2 separate regions of the Homo sapiens genome follow, and region 2 is linked to region 1. The links are contacts of gene promoters, found by promoter capture Hi-C in human tissues and cell types (Jung and others, 2019). All regions are on one chromosome and are shown on one strand. The core of a region is centred on a gene start or on the middle of the fragment in contact, and the rest is flanking DNA. Distances in the headings are between cores, read along the strand shown. Region 1 holds the start of TEAD3 (TEA domain transcription factor 3). Region 2 has its middle 17 kb from the start of ARMC12.

Evidence for each region. Contacts are between HindIII fragments. The study calls those that stand out against the background at their distance.
Region 2: a fragment that was not itself captured here is called in contact with the fragment with the promoter of TEAD3 in region 1 in 2 of the 25 tissues and cell types used here (mesendoderm cells and spleen).

Annotation. Positions count from the first base shown.
Region 1 is chr6:35,491,270-35,498,328 of GRCh38, reverse strand. It overlaps TEAD3 (TEA domain transcription factor 3), which reads left to right and starts at 1,250. Exons shown (of 13, transcript NM_003214.4): 1 at 1,250-1,431. It overlaps TULP1 (TUB like protein 1), which reads left to right. Exons shown (of 15, transcript NM_003322.6): 15 at 1-455. The coding sequence ends at 2. LOC124901309 (a long non-coding RNA gene) reads right to left here and starts at 196. Exons shown (of 2, transcript XR_007059561.1): 1 at 122-196. RefSeq lists enhancers at 1-343, 344-1,274, 2,221-3,006, 5,432-6,005, 6,006-6,581 and 1 more and silencers at 743-1,072, 1,083-1,212, 1,393-1,442. The HindIII fragment of the contact is 31,199 bases long and covers 1-7,059 here.
Region 2 is chr6:35,750,322-35,757,380 of GRCh38, reverse strand. No RefSeq gene overlaps it. Among named protein-coding and RNA genes, the nearest start is that of ARMC12, 17 kb to the right of the region's middle. RefSeq lists an enhancer at 1,564-2,153. The HindIII fragment of the contact is 8,297 bases long and covers 1-6,614 here.

The sequences.
Region 1 (7,059 bases), core at 1-2,500:
GACCCCAGCAGCCCCTCAGCGCCCCCAGAGCCCGTCAGCGTGGGGGAAAGGATTCAGTGGAGGCTGGCAGGGTCCCTCCAGCAAAGCTCCCGCGGAAAACTGCTCCTGTGTCGGGGCTGACCTCTCACTGCCTCTCGGTGACCTCCGTCCTCTCCCCAGCCTGGCACAGGCCGAGGCAGGAGGAGCCCGGACGGCGGGTAGGACGGAGATGAAGAACATCTGGAGTTGGAGCCGCACATCTGGTCTCGGAGCTCGCCTGCGCCGCTGTGCCCCCCTCCTCCCCGCGCCCCAGTCACTTCCTGTCCGGGAGCAGTAGTCATTGTTGTTTTAACCTCCCCTCTCCCCGGGACCGCGCTAGGGCTCCGAGGAGCTGGGGCGGGCTAGGAGGAGGGGGTAGGTGATGGGGGACGAGGGCCAGGCACCCACATCCCCAATAAAGCCGCGTCCTTGGCCAAGCGGAGCGGTGGTTCCTCAGCGCGTGCGGAGAACGAGGCGGCAGGAGGCGTCCGAGGCGCGAGCTGGAAGTCTCAACCCCCGTCCCACTCCTGCCCAGGCCCCGGGCGCTCCCGCGTCCCCTCCCCGCGCCCGTCGCGGGTCCTACCGAAACTCGGCGGCCGCACAGCGTCGAGACGCCCCCCGTGGGGGCCCGGGGAGCCGGGGCGAAAGGGAGGGTCCCGGAGGTCGGGGAAGAGGGAGAAAGGGAGAAGAAATTCGAGAAACTAGCCACGCGGGGAGAACCAGACAAACCGGGTCCCGGCAGGGCGGGCGCAGCCGCCAGGGCGGAGCCGGGTCTGGGGCCCCGGGAGTGGGGGGCAGGCCCGCGAGCTGGAGGGTACGCTCCGCCTTGGCGGCTCGGGACTAGGGTGGAGGGGCCGGGAGCCCCGGGGCCCGTGCGCTCCGGCTCTGCCGGGCTCCTCGTGACGCGGCACCCACGGCCCCCGGCACCGACGGGAGCCCTGCCCGCGAGGCGAGGGCTCCGCCCTCGGCCCCGCCCCAGGCCGGAGCCCCAAATTCCGGCGGGTGCCCGGGAGCGGGGCGAGGCCCGGAGCGCAGGGGGAGGAAGGCAGCTCCGCACGGGCGGGCGAGGAGCGGGGCGCCCAGGCGCGCGCCAGCCGGGGTGGCCGGGTCGCGAGGCCGCGGGGTAGGCGGCCCGAGCGCGGCTGGACGGCCCCGCCCCTCCCGGCCAGCACCGCCCCCTGCGCGCCCCGCCCCCTCCTTCCCGCAGCCCCCACCCCCGCCCCGGCTCCTCAACACAAACTTTCCGTCCCGCTCGCTCCCTCCTCCGCGCTCGGCGCCTCCCGCTCCAGCCCGGCTCATTCCGCACATTCCGGCCAGCCCCCTCCCCACGACCCCCCTTCCCCGGCCCCCCTTGCGGCTCCCTCGGGCCCGGCGGAGCGGCCCGGCCGGAGCGCCCCCGCGAGCTCGGACCAGGTAAGCCGGGCGGACGCCGGGAGGAGGCCCCGCTCGGGAGAGGTGGTTTGGTTGGTCGGCTGGGCTGGCTGGGGGGGCGACACTCGAGGGGGACTGGGTCCCCGAGCTATTGTCCAGCCGGAGCTGGAGCCCCGGATCGGGGTGCCGGGAAGTTTAGAGGGAAGGGGGAAAATCTCTCCGGGAAGCCCCGCCCCCCGCCCTCCCCACCCCCCCGCGACGGGGACGAGTTGGTCCGGGAAGGTGGGGAAGCCGGGGAGACCGTGTCCCCTGTGCCGTCGCCTGTCCCGCCGTCCGTGCTTGGGGGGTCGGGGCGGGGATCCGGGGGCCGCACAGTGTGGAGGGCCTGCCTGCCACCCTGGAGCTCATATCCGGGGCGCCCAGTCCCGGGCCCCGCCGCCCTTTGGACTCCCGGCCCGCGCGCTCCCGGAGCCCGCCCGGCCTCAGCTCCACGCAGGCCTCGGGCCCGGCCTCCCAGCGCCCAGGCCGGTTTCTGCGCGCGGTGCCGCGGCTGCGCTGGGTTGTGGAGGGTGTCTGGGACCAAAGCCGCGCGCCCCGGCCGTGTGTCCCCTGAGAGGCAGGGAGGGGCTCACGTTCCCTTCAGTTCTGCCGCCTGCGTCGGGGTGCTGATTCAGAGTTCCAGCCCTGAGCGCTGTGAGCTTGGCTCGGAGGGGTCTGGATTTGGGGCCTTTTCTTCCCCACACTTGCTCAGGGCCCTTGTTTAGACTTGACAAGGTTTGAGGGTGGCTGGTCTCCCGCTTCCTACCCCGGTCCCCACCATTGTCTGTCATGCCCTTTATTCCTGCTAGGGGAGGGAGGGCTGGGAGCGCTGGTCTGGATCTGTTTTCCAGCCCAGCTGGGCCCTGGGGCAGTGTCATTGAGACCCCGCTCTGTCAACTTTCCTGGTGAGGGGCCCTGATCCAGGGCTGAGAGATTCTTTCAGTGCGAGGGGGAAGGAGGCCTTGGGGCGGACTTCTCAGGGGCTGTCTTCTTCTGTGTCTTCCCTCTTTCCAGGTAGGGGCAGAACCAGGTCAGGCCTGGACTTGTTGTCCGGAAGAACAGGGCATAGGGGTAGGGGCTGGACACAGCTCAGAGGGGCTGGTGCCCATAGCGGCTCTGCGTATCCAGTCTCTTGTGGCCTGGTTCTCTGTACACATGTTCCACCCCAGTGCTGGGGCCACCTGGGGCAAGGAGGGGAGGCTTTCCTCAAAAGTTGGAGATTTGGGGGAATTATGTCCTCTCCCTTCTAGACTCCTGTAGCCCCCCTCCCACCAAGACCCCTCTCGTAGGGGCACTCCCTAAAGGATGTGGTTCTGTGGTCTTCTGGGTCCCTGCTCACCCAGTGGGCAGAGTGCACAGATCTTCCAGGACAAGGCTGTCCAGTAAGGGTAACTTCAGGGGCCCTGGATGCCCCCTCCTCAGGGAGAGGGTAGGAGCCAGTATGAGTCCCAAGCTCTTGGGCCTTCCCCTACCCCCCCAGGGAGGGAACGTCATTAATGCTAATGAGCGCATCTGGGCTGGGGAATGGCTTGTTAGAGTGGTCAGTGGTTGCCAGGACAGAGCAGCACATTAAGTGTACAGAAGCATCACATGGGTCCTGAGCCCTGCTCCCATCCTCACCCAAAGGTTTGTAGACCCTGGCACTTTCTGCCAACTGAAGGAATGTTAAAACCGGGAGGATTTGATATTCTCAACAATATCAAAGGAGAAGATATCTCAACAGAGGTGGTCAAGAAATAGGGATCTGGTCCCCTCCGGACCTTTAACCAGTTGCGCCATCTTGGCAGGCCCCTTTGGGCCTCAGTTTCCCTGCTTGGAATGAATGACTTCTCAAGTCCCTTTTCTCTGAGCTCCTCCCAGAGTCTGTCTCCCAGTTTGCCTTCCTTCTCCCATGATGGAACCTGAACTTGGTGGGGTCTGGAGAGGCGGGTGGGTGATCCAGTGGCCCAAAGAAGAAGGCAAGGACAAACCAAGGGGTGACTGAGGAGTAGCTCAGCCAGATGAACAGGGCTGAAAAGGTGGCGGGGGGCAGGTGTCAAGGGACAGGGGGGCTTGGTGGATTGGGGGATCTTGCCTCTGAAGTGGTCATGGGTTCTGTTAGGGCTGAATGGCACAAAGGGTGCTCAGAGGCCGCTTGGGTGGCTCTACCCTCTGCCCCACTCCCAGACACCTGTGGGGGTCCCAGGGCTCAGTGTGGAAATCGCTGGTCCTGCCCTCCTCCTCCTCCCCGCCCAGGATGGGGAGAGGAGCCCAGGGGTCTAAACGCTGCAGCTTTCTGTGAAGGGGCTAGGAGGTCGCAGCCTCTTCTTCCCACATGGGGGCTGCAGAAGCTGTGGGGTCCCAGGGGTGGCCCTGAGGATCTGCCTCTGGGTAGAGCTGGGGAGGTCAGCAGGTCACACTCGGCACTGTCCCTGGGGCCTTGCCCTGCCTTCCCTCCCCTCCCCTCCTGGTGTTGTGCCAGCCCTGGGCTGTCTGCAGAAGGGGCCACTTCCCTCCAGGGAGAACCCTGCCAGGGAAAGGGCTCTGCCTGTCTTCCCCGACCCACAGGAGGTTGAGGTTAGGGCCAGAGAGGTTCATCCCCCTGCACATCCCTAAAGCCTCAGCCCTTGGGGTTTCCTAGAGTGCCGATTGTTTCCTGTGCTCCCTGCCAGGCCTGAAAGGGCAGGAAGTGTTAGAGGGAAATGAGAATGCAACTGTGTGTGACGCTGGATGTGTGTGAGAGAAGCCATGAGTGGGACATTCTATGTGGGTGAGACTTGTCTTCTGTGGGGCTGGATGTGTGTGGAAGAGAACCTTGGTCAGAGCAACTTGTGCAGGGCTGGGTGTATGCAGGAGAGAAACTGTGGCTTTGTGACATTCGTGTGTGTGACAGATATACACGTCCATAAGAGAAACTGGGTGACTCTTCATGTGTCCAGGTGTGCCGCCACCTCTGTACCTGAGAACCTGCATGGGGGATGTTCTGTGTGTGCCAGGGCATCACCCAGGATGTGCCGATGAAGGAAGCTGGCTGCCTAGCCATCTGTGTGTACCTGGAGATGACACTGGGTGTGGCTCTGATGCTCAAGTGACCTGCGTGTGAAGGACACCGCACTCGCACGATGCTGTGTGTATGTGAGCGCGCGGGCGCGTGTGCGTGAGAAGCCGGATGAGTGGCGATCTGTGTGATGTGTTACGCTGTGGTGTGACCACTTGTGACCTGCATGTTGTGACGCAGCATGTGAGATGGCCTCAGGTTTGTCTGTGTGTGACTTACATGTGACACTACATGCGAGTAAAACAACATGACCAGCTCTGTGTCAGTATGATGTGTGTACCAGCAAGGTGGGCCCCATCCGACATGTGCCAAGCATGAATATGGTATGCGGTGTGTGGGTGACACTGAGCACCAGAAAGCGACACCGTATGTGAGAGAAACCGTGGGGCGTGACTGATGCTGGCGCTGTGGGTGGGTGGTCACTATCTGAGCGTGTTTGGGACTCTCGGGTAGTGTGGGTGACACCCCCAGGGCTGTGCCAGGCAGGGCGTGTAGGAGGCTCTGTGGGATGCTTTTGGGGGCCTGTGGTCCCTGACGTGTGGCATCTATGTGGAAGACAATGAGAAAGACACTGATAAAAACAAAGAAGGAATGTAATTAATGCCTCTCAATTGTACACTTAGAAATGGCTAAAATGGTAAACTTGATGTTATGTATATTTTATCACAATAAAGACATTTTTAAAAACCCAGCAGGAGAGAGATGCGGGTAACAGTGAATGAGCAGGACAGTGGCTGTGACGCAACTGTGTATGCGAGCGAGAGGAAGGGCGCAGAGGAAACCTATTTGTTCTTAGATGACACCGTGACTCTCATGAGGGCACTGACTGAGTGGCTGGTGGGAGCCCAGTGGGCGACCCAGAGTACCAGGAGTCTGGCATGGTAACTGAGAACTGAGAAACCCAGTGACCCCCTATAGTCTGTCTCTCACTGGATACCTGAGATTCCCACCCTGGGACCAGGACAAGATGAGGAGATAAGTCAGTCCCAGGGAGGGGGTGAAGGGAGGTCTGGAAACTGGGCCCTTCTCTCTACAGGGGACTTGAGGGCTGAGTCTCCACCCTCCTACCCGCTATACTGCTTCAGGGAGCAGGAGCGTGACAACAGATGAGATGAGCTTTGCAGAAGGAGGCCTGGGGGGACTATCCCAACCCCCTCTGCTCCCTGAGAAAGCCCCTTTCCCAAGTAGTGTGGGGAGGAGGGGCAGAGAATCTCCAGTCCCAAATTGGAAGCACATTAATAAGCAGGGCGGGGGGTGGGGAGAGAGTGGAGGGGCCCCCACCTCCCTCCTAGTGGGCTCTGCAAATTGCTTCCTCCTGTAAAAATTGAGACCCTGTTCCAGGAAGGAGGGAAGCCCTCCCCAGCCTGGCAGGGTGTGGCTGCTTGGCAGGGTCCCTCCGGGGTCCTTGGGCTGGAGGTGGGGGAGACAGATACATCCCTACTTGCTCTGCTGCCCCAGAGCATGGCTACTTCTAGGGTGGGAGCTTCTGGCAGCTGGAGAACAGCTGGCCCGCTGTGGGGCGGGTAGGGGAGGAGGGAGGAAAAGGCAGAGAGGGTGGGAGCCTCCCTTAGCCCTCCTCAGCTGCCCTCCCCATCCTCGACCCCCCCGGCTGGTCAGCCCAGCTCAGGTTTGAGGGCAGAGATTTGGGAGGAAACTGCTGATTTCACTGATCTTGCCACATTTTGAGTGATGTTCTCACTCCAAGTGAGAATGCTTTGGGGGCTGGGGTCCCTGCAGGGGTGGACTGCTGGCTGCTAGACCCAGGAAGGTCACAGCTCAGCTCGTCCTCCCAGCAGGGCTGGTGCAGGGGAAGGGGTAAGACAGGAGGTGCCCACTCACCCAGACTGGCTTTTTCTGTGCCTCCTACCAAGGCAGTGGCTCTGGGGCCCCTAAAGGGAGCTACAGGGCTGGGTGGTCTGGAGGCTGCAGGGTCTGTGGGGGTGGGGGACCAGGGCCTCTGCAGCGGCCCCAGCTCCAGCCTGATCCCTGGAGCTGTCCAGCCAGTTCTTCCAGCAGGTCTTGCCCCAGGGTGGGGGTGGGCAGCAAGGTGCCCCTTATCTTCCCCAGGGCCCCAAAGCCTGCTCACCCAGCCTCCTAGCCCCCATCCCTGCCTCCACCCAGAGGCCTTCTGAGCCTGAAAGGCTGAGGGCCCTGGGAGAGGGGAAGCGGGTGTGGCTGGTCAGGATGAGGGTGAAGGCAGACTGAGTCCCCTGGGGGTCTGCAGCCTGCTGGCGGGTTTGCAGGACAGGTACAACAGGACTCCTCTGCAGAGGCAGATGGGAGGGGTTCTGAGAGGAGGTGGAGGGTAGGAGCCCCTGAGATGGGAGTGGGGGTGTCCTGGATGGTGGCCAGCCCCAGCCCCTGGCAGTGGCCTCCCTTGTCACTCCCTCCCTCTGTTTTGCCTTGGCCTCTGGGTCTCTGTCCTTGTCCCTGTCTTTTTCTTTCTCCCCATCCCCTCCTGGTCTGCCCCTCCCTCGATGCCTATCATATCTGAGTTTCTGGTCTACCCCTCTCTGCTGTGTGTCTCTTTCTAGGTCTTTGTTGGTTGCCTTGTCTGTGCCCCTCCCCTGCCCTCCTTCTCCCCTTCTCCCTTC
Region 2 (7,059 bases), core at 1,217-3,716, 260 kb before region 1:
GCTCACGCCTGTAATCCCAACACTTTGGGAGGCCGATGCAGGCGGATCACCAGAGATCAGAAGTTCGAGACCAGCCTGGCCAACATAGCAAAACCTCGTCTCTATTAAAAATTTAAAAAAATTAGCTGGGCATGGTGGCAGGCACCTGTAATCCCAGCTACTTGGGAGGCTGAGGCAGGAGAATTGCTTGAACCTCGGAGGCGGAGGTTGCAGTGAGCTGAGATTGTGCCACTGCACTTCAGCCTGGTCGACAGAGCGAGACTCCATCTCAAAAAAAAAAGAAAAAAGGAACATGCTCTCACTTTGCCATATTCTAGATTAGAAGCAAATTACTAGGTCCAGCTCAGATTCAAGGGCAGCAAATTAAACAGGACATATTTAAGAAGTGGGGGTCACTGGGATAGTTTTAGAAGGCTGCCTACCACATTTGCCATTTATTATTATCAGAGATGTATAAAGGTTGTATTTGATGATGATAAAAAAAATTCCTGTTTCATAAAAATGAAACCAATCTCGGCCGGGCGTGGTGGCTCATGCCTGTAATCCCAGCACTTTGGGAGCCCAAGGTGGGCGGATCACAAGGTCAGGAGATCGAGACCATCCTGGCTAATACAGTGAAACCCCGTCTCTACTAAAAATACAAAAAATTAGCTGGGCATTGTGGCGGGCGCCTGTAGTGCCAGCTACTCGGAGGCTGAGGCAGGAGAATGGCGTGAAATCAGGGAGGCAGAGCTTGCAGTGAGCCGAGATCGTGCCACTCCAGCCTGGGTGACAGAGTGAGACTCCGTCTCAAAACAAAAAACAAAAAACAAAAAAAGAAATGGGGGTCTTGCATGGTGGCTCACGCCTGTAATCCCAACACTTTGGGAGGCCAAGGCAGGTGGATCACCTGAGGTCAGGTCAGGGGTTCGAGACCAGCCTGGCCAACATGGTGAAACCCCCGTCTCTACTAAAAATACCAAAAATTAGCCAGGCGTAGTGGTGGGCGCTTGTAATCCCAGCTACTCAGGAGGCTGAGACACAAGAGAATTGCTTGAACACGAGAGGCGGAGGTTGCGGTGAGCCCAGATCGCGCTGTTGCACTCCAGGCTGGGCAACAAGAGTGAAACTCCTTCTCAAAAAAAAAAAGAAAAGAAAAGAAATGGGGGTCTTGCTATGTTGCCCAGGTTGGTCTGGAACTCCTGGCCTCAAGTGATCCCCCTGCCTGTCCTCCCAAAGCACTGGGATTACAGGTACCCGGCCCCTGCTTTAAGTTTTAAGACACACCTGGGGACTCCAGCCAAGTTTTGCTTGAGAACCCTGTGTTGAGGTCCTACTGGAAGCCATGCAGTGGGGCTGGAGTTCCCTTTGTGTCTGTCTCTCATACATCTCCTTCAGGTAATCAGTTAGAGAAGTAACTGGCCATCTGCCTGGCCAAAATCATCTACCAGCACCCTACCCCATCACAATCCCATCAGAGGGAAACTCTGATTGGTTTCCCTTCCTGTAAAGTCCAACTATCCCAACCTGGAGAGCTCTTCTCTCTCCTCTCTGGAGATCCAATTCAAGCCACTCCTCTTCTCTGAAACCTTAGAATTAAATGAGAAGATGAGAAGAGATGTTTCTTTGTAAATAGAATTGCCTGAGGGTCAAAGAGGCCTGTAGTTGAGAAAACAAGCTAAACAGCTGGAAAAAAAGACAGAGGGAAAGGATGGAGTGTCAACTACTGGTTATAAAATTTCTCTTCTTCTTGGCAGGGATTGTCTCTGTGGGGATACAGATGCATCTAGCTGCTGAGCACACAGTAGGTGTCCAATTAGTCTTTGTTGACAGTGTCCCTGTAGTGGTTTTTAAATGCTCACACATTCCTTGATATTCTTCCCTTTAATAGGTAGAGCCTAACTGCCTTCCTTTGAATGGGGGCTAGACTGACTTCTAATGAATAGAATGTGGCAGAAGTGACAGTGTATGACTTCTGAGGTGAGGTCAGAAAAGGCATTGCAGCGTCTGCTCTGTTCTCTCCTGGACGATTTACTATAAGGGAAGCCAGCTGCTATGTCATGAAGACTCTCAAACACCCCTGTGGAGATGCCCACGTGTAGAAAGACTGAGGCCTCCTGCCAACAGCTGGCACCAACTTGTCAGTCCCATAAGTGCGCTGTCTTGGAAGGGGATCCTCCAGCCCCAGTCAAGCCTTCAAATAACAACAGTCCTTGGCAAAAGCGTGACTGTAACCACAGCTTGACTGAGCCAGAACCACCCAGTCAAGATGCTCTCAAATTCCTGTGAGAAGTAACATATGTTTATTGATATTTAAATGACTAAGAGGAAGGGAGCTGGAGAGACATTTTGGGAGGAAGAGGTTTTTGCTTCCTGGTTCTAGTGTGCTTGATTGACAGGCTCCTGCTCTGCAAACAGCTTTCAGTGCCCAGTTCCCAGAGTAACCAGCAACACCCAGTGGCTAGCAGCTTCTCCTGGCACTGTCCACCTTGGGCTGTAGTGTAAGCAGAATACCTCCAACTTCTGCCTCACATACCACCTGCGTGCATGTGGCTTCTGCCGCATCAGGCTCCTGCAGCACCCACAGGTACTCCAGTGCCGCCTCCCACAGCACATGAAGGCCAGCAGCACCCAGTGGGAAGCAGCTTCCCCTGCACACCCCACTCAGTTAGTTCTGTAGTCGAAAGTCTCTGGTTCCACACCTCCTTGGGAAAGAGCTTTCCCTGGCATCCTAGAGGGCATATTTCTGGCAAGTTCCACTGGCATGACAGTACAGTGACTTTTCTGCCACCTAGTGAGCTGTGGGCTGTGCTCTACTCAACAAGGTCTGGATCTCAGCCCTGGGTGGGGAGAGGGTATCTCTTTCTTGGGTGCTGTATCTTGGGAGGTAGGGGCTGCTCCTCATGTCAGCTATTCATTATTCCATAGGGTTCTCATAACTCCTTACTAAACAATTCTTTGTTACTCCAATCCCCTGTTTTAATAATCATATTAAAATTTCCTGTTAAATTACTGTGAGGTTTCTCTCTTGATCAGACCCAAGCTGATACACAAGTTTTCTCATAATTTGTTACATGGCAGCAGATAATACACCACTCCCATCTGATCTTCCCACTGCCAATTCCTTTCATTACCATCAGCCAATTGCCATTATCATGTGCCTGCCCTGAGCAGGCTCTTCCTTCAAGGTTTTTTTTGTTTTTGTTTCTGTTTTTGTTTTTTTTGAGATGGTGTCTGGCTCTGTCGCCCAGGCTGGCATGCAGTGGCGCGATCTCCGCTCACTGCAAGCTCTGCCTACTGGGTTCACACCATTCTCCTGCCTCAGCCTCCCGAGTAGCTTGGGACTATAGGCGCCCGCCACCACATCCAGCTAATTTTTTGTATTTTATTTTTAGTAGAGATGGGGTTTCACCACGTTAGCCAGGATGGTCTCCATCTCCTGAACTCGTGATCCGCCCGTCTCGGCCTCCCAAAGTGCAGGGCATGAGCCACCACGCCCGGCTCTTCAAGGCTTTGGTAAGCAGTCAGATATGTCCTACTGCAGGCAGGCCAGGCACAGTGACTCAAACCTATAAACCCAGCACTTTGTGAGGCCGAGGCAGGCAGATCGCTTGAGGTCAGGAGTTCGAGACCAGCCTGGCCAACATGGCGAAACTTGGTCTCTACTAAAAATACAAAATTTAGCCAGGCATGATGGTGCGTGTCCATAATCCCAGCTACTCGGGAGGCTGAGGCAGGAGAATCGCTTGAACCTGGGAGGCAGAGGTTGCAGTGAGCCAAGATCGTGCCACTGCACTCCAGCCTGGACAATAGAGCAAGACTCCGTCTCAAAAAAAAAATTAGCTGGGCATGGTGGTGGGCACCTATAATCCTAGTTACTCAGGAGGCTGAGGCAGGAGAATCTCCTGAACCTGGGGATGCAGAGGTTGCAGTGAACCAAGATCATGCCACTGCACTCCAGCCTAGGCGACAGAGTGAGACTCCATCTCAAAAGAAAAAAACCACAAAGAACAAAAAACATATGTCCTACTGCAAAAAAGAATAAAAGAACAAGGTATATAAGATTCAAGCTTTAATTTGCCAAATGCCAAGTGAGAGGTTCAGATGAGAAGTGCTGCAGGGTGCACCAGAGGCTAGTATGCTTGAAAAAAGATCTAGGCTGCAGTGGGACGTCAACTTTGATGACACTAGAAGGCACAACCCAGTTGGAAGAAGAGGGAAGGCCATTCTAGCATTCTAGGCAGCAGGAAAGTTGTATCAAAAGTAAGCCAGGTGCGGTGGCTCATGCCTGTAATCCCAGCACTCTGGAGGCCGAGGTGGGCAGATCACCTGAGGTCGGGAGTTTGAGACCATCCTGGGCAACATGGAAAAACCCCGTCTCTACTAAAAATACAAAATTAGCCAGGCATGGTGGTGGCGCATGCCTGTAATCCCAGCTACTTGGGAGACTGAGGCAGGAGAATCGCTTGAACCCAGGAGGTGGAGGTTGCGGTGAGCCGAGATATCGCGCCCTTGCACTCCAACCTGGGCAACGAGCAAAACTCCGTCTCAAAAAAAGGAAAAAAAAAAAATGTTTGGAGGCATCTTCTCTTTATAATAGTAATTTAAAGAAAAAAAAAGAAAACATGTTTGGAGCAAGAGTACACATGGTATGATTAGGGCAGCAATGACTAGTTTGCTCCAGTTTGGCTGGAGCAGAGATGTGGCACAGTAGGCTTGTGGCAGGCAAGAGGATCACACTGTGAAGAGCCTTGAATGCAAAGCTAATTCATTTGGTTTCGTCATGTAAAAAAGGGGTCCAGTGACCACATCTTTGAGGACAAAACTCAACCTTTTGCTGAGAATACATTTATACCTGTCAGATCACGTGACTTTGCTTTGATGCCGAGAAAGATTTCACCATGGCAATGGGGAGCCCCTGAAGGTTTTTGAGAATGGTGCCATGTGTGATTATAAAATTAGCCTGGAGTGCGTAGGGCTGGAGAGGATGGAAACCAGGAGGAGGAAAAGTCAGGCCCAGTGTGGTGGCTCACACCTGTAATCCCAACACTTTGGGAGGCTGAGGAAGGTGGATTGCTTGAGCTCAGGAGTTTGAGACCAGCCTGGGAAACATGCAAAACCTCGTCTTTACAAAAAAAATACAAAAGATTAGCTGGGCGCGGTGGCACACTCCTGTAGTCCCAGCTACCCAAGGAGGCTGACGTGGAAGGACCACGTGAGCCTGGGAGGTCGAGGCTGCAGTGAGCTGTGTTTGCTCCACTGCACTTTAGCCTGGGAGACAGAGTGAGACCCTGTCTCAAAAAAAAAAAAAAAGAAAGAAAGAAAGAAGTAGGCAAGTCCTGATGTGGAGGACAGGGCAGTAGCAGTGGAAATGGGGGAACTAGGTGGATGTGGTGGGGAGGAGAATTTGAAAGTGATGCCCAACACCTTGTTGGTGACATGGGCACACATGGAGCTGGTCGAAAGGAAACGTCGGCATTTGACAAGTTCCACTGGGGTGGCTGCAGTGTATTCAGCAGCAAGAAGGAGCAGCCTCAGGCCTGAACTCAGGAGGGAAACAAGGGATGCTGATTCAGATCTGGTAGTGACTGCCCACTCATTCTGGGAGACAGTGACGGGGTTGGCCTCTCTATAGGCTCTGGCTCTTTCTCATCAGCCCATCCTCATCAAGAAACACCCTCCCTCTTCCACCTGAGTGATATGACCTTGGGCCAGGGATTAAGTGGGGACAGATTTCCTTTAAGTACTTCAGTCCTAAACTGGCCTCTAAAATCCAGAAGCATCAAGATCCTCCTCAGTTTCCATAGGTTTGGGCTTAGAATCCATGACCCACTCTTACGGGGCTTGGACCGAAGAATGTGAGGGCAAAAGAAAAGCTCAGTAGTAGGAGGTTCTAATCCTATTTCTGCCCTAGACCAGTCATGTGACCTTGAGCAAGTCACTTTTCCATTTTGGGTTTGTTTTCCTTTCAGGAAAATGCCAGGGTTGGTCCTGGACGAGACTAGTTTTCAAATCCTGCTTCTGAAGAACACCGGGAGCCCGTGGCTGGACCAGGTTCTTTGTCCTAGATCGAGCAGTCTCAGGCTGGGAATAGCTCCAACATTAGGTTTCTCTCCCGTAGCATTTTCTTAAACCGTTAGCAATCCTTACTGTTTCCCAGCAAGGATTCACAGATAAAACAGTGAATGAGGGCTGGGCGTGGTGGCTCACACCTGTAACCCTAGCACTTTGGGAGGCCAAGGTGGGGGGATCACGAGGTCAGGAGATCGAGACCATCCTGGCCAACATGGTGAAACCCCTTCTCTACTAAAAAATACAAAAAATTAGCTGGGTGTTGTGGCGCGCTCCTGTAGTCCCAGCTACTCGGGAGGCTGAGGCAGGAGAATTGCTTGAACCCGGGAGGCAGAGGATGCAGTGAGCTGAGATTGTACCACTGTACTCCAGCCTGGCGACAGAGCGAGACTCCGTCTCAAAAAAACAAAAAAAACAATGAAGGAACAACTGGGAAACGCAAATGAATGGGGAATTGGAAAATGGATGACCATATTTGGTTTGACAGTCTTCTTGTTTCTGGAAACTTCATGGTTATGGTGTTATATTACTCACACCATTGTTCTGGTTTCCAAAGCTAAGTTTCAATGACTTTTCAGCACGCTTCATAGAGGACTCTAGGACTCCCCAGTGCCCATAACCTGAAGAGACTGGAGAAATGCTGGAGGCAACACTCTCCAAGGACCTCCCCAGTGATGATCTTTTGTTTTCTCAGTGATGATTTCTTTTTTTTTTTGAGATGGAGTCTCGCACCTCTGTCTCTGAGGCTGGAGTGCAATAGCGTGATCTCAGCTCACCGCAACCTCTGCCTCCCGGGTTCAAGCAATTCTCCTGCCTCAGCTTCCCAAGTAGCTGGGATTACAGGTGCCCGCCACCACATCTGGCTAGTTTTGTATTTTTAGTAGAGACGGGGTTTCTCCGTGTTGGTCAGGCTGGTCTCGAACTCCCGACCTCGGGTGATCCTCCCGCCTCAGCCTCCCAAAGTGCTGGGATTACAGGCGTGAGCCACTCTGCCCGGCTTTCTCAGTG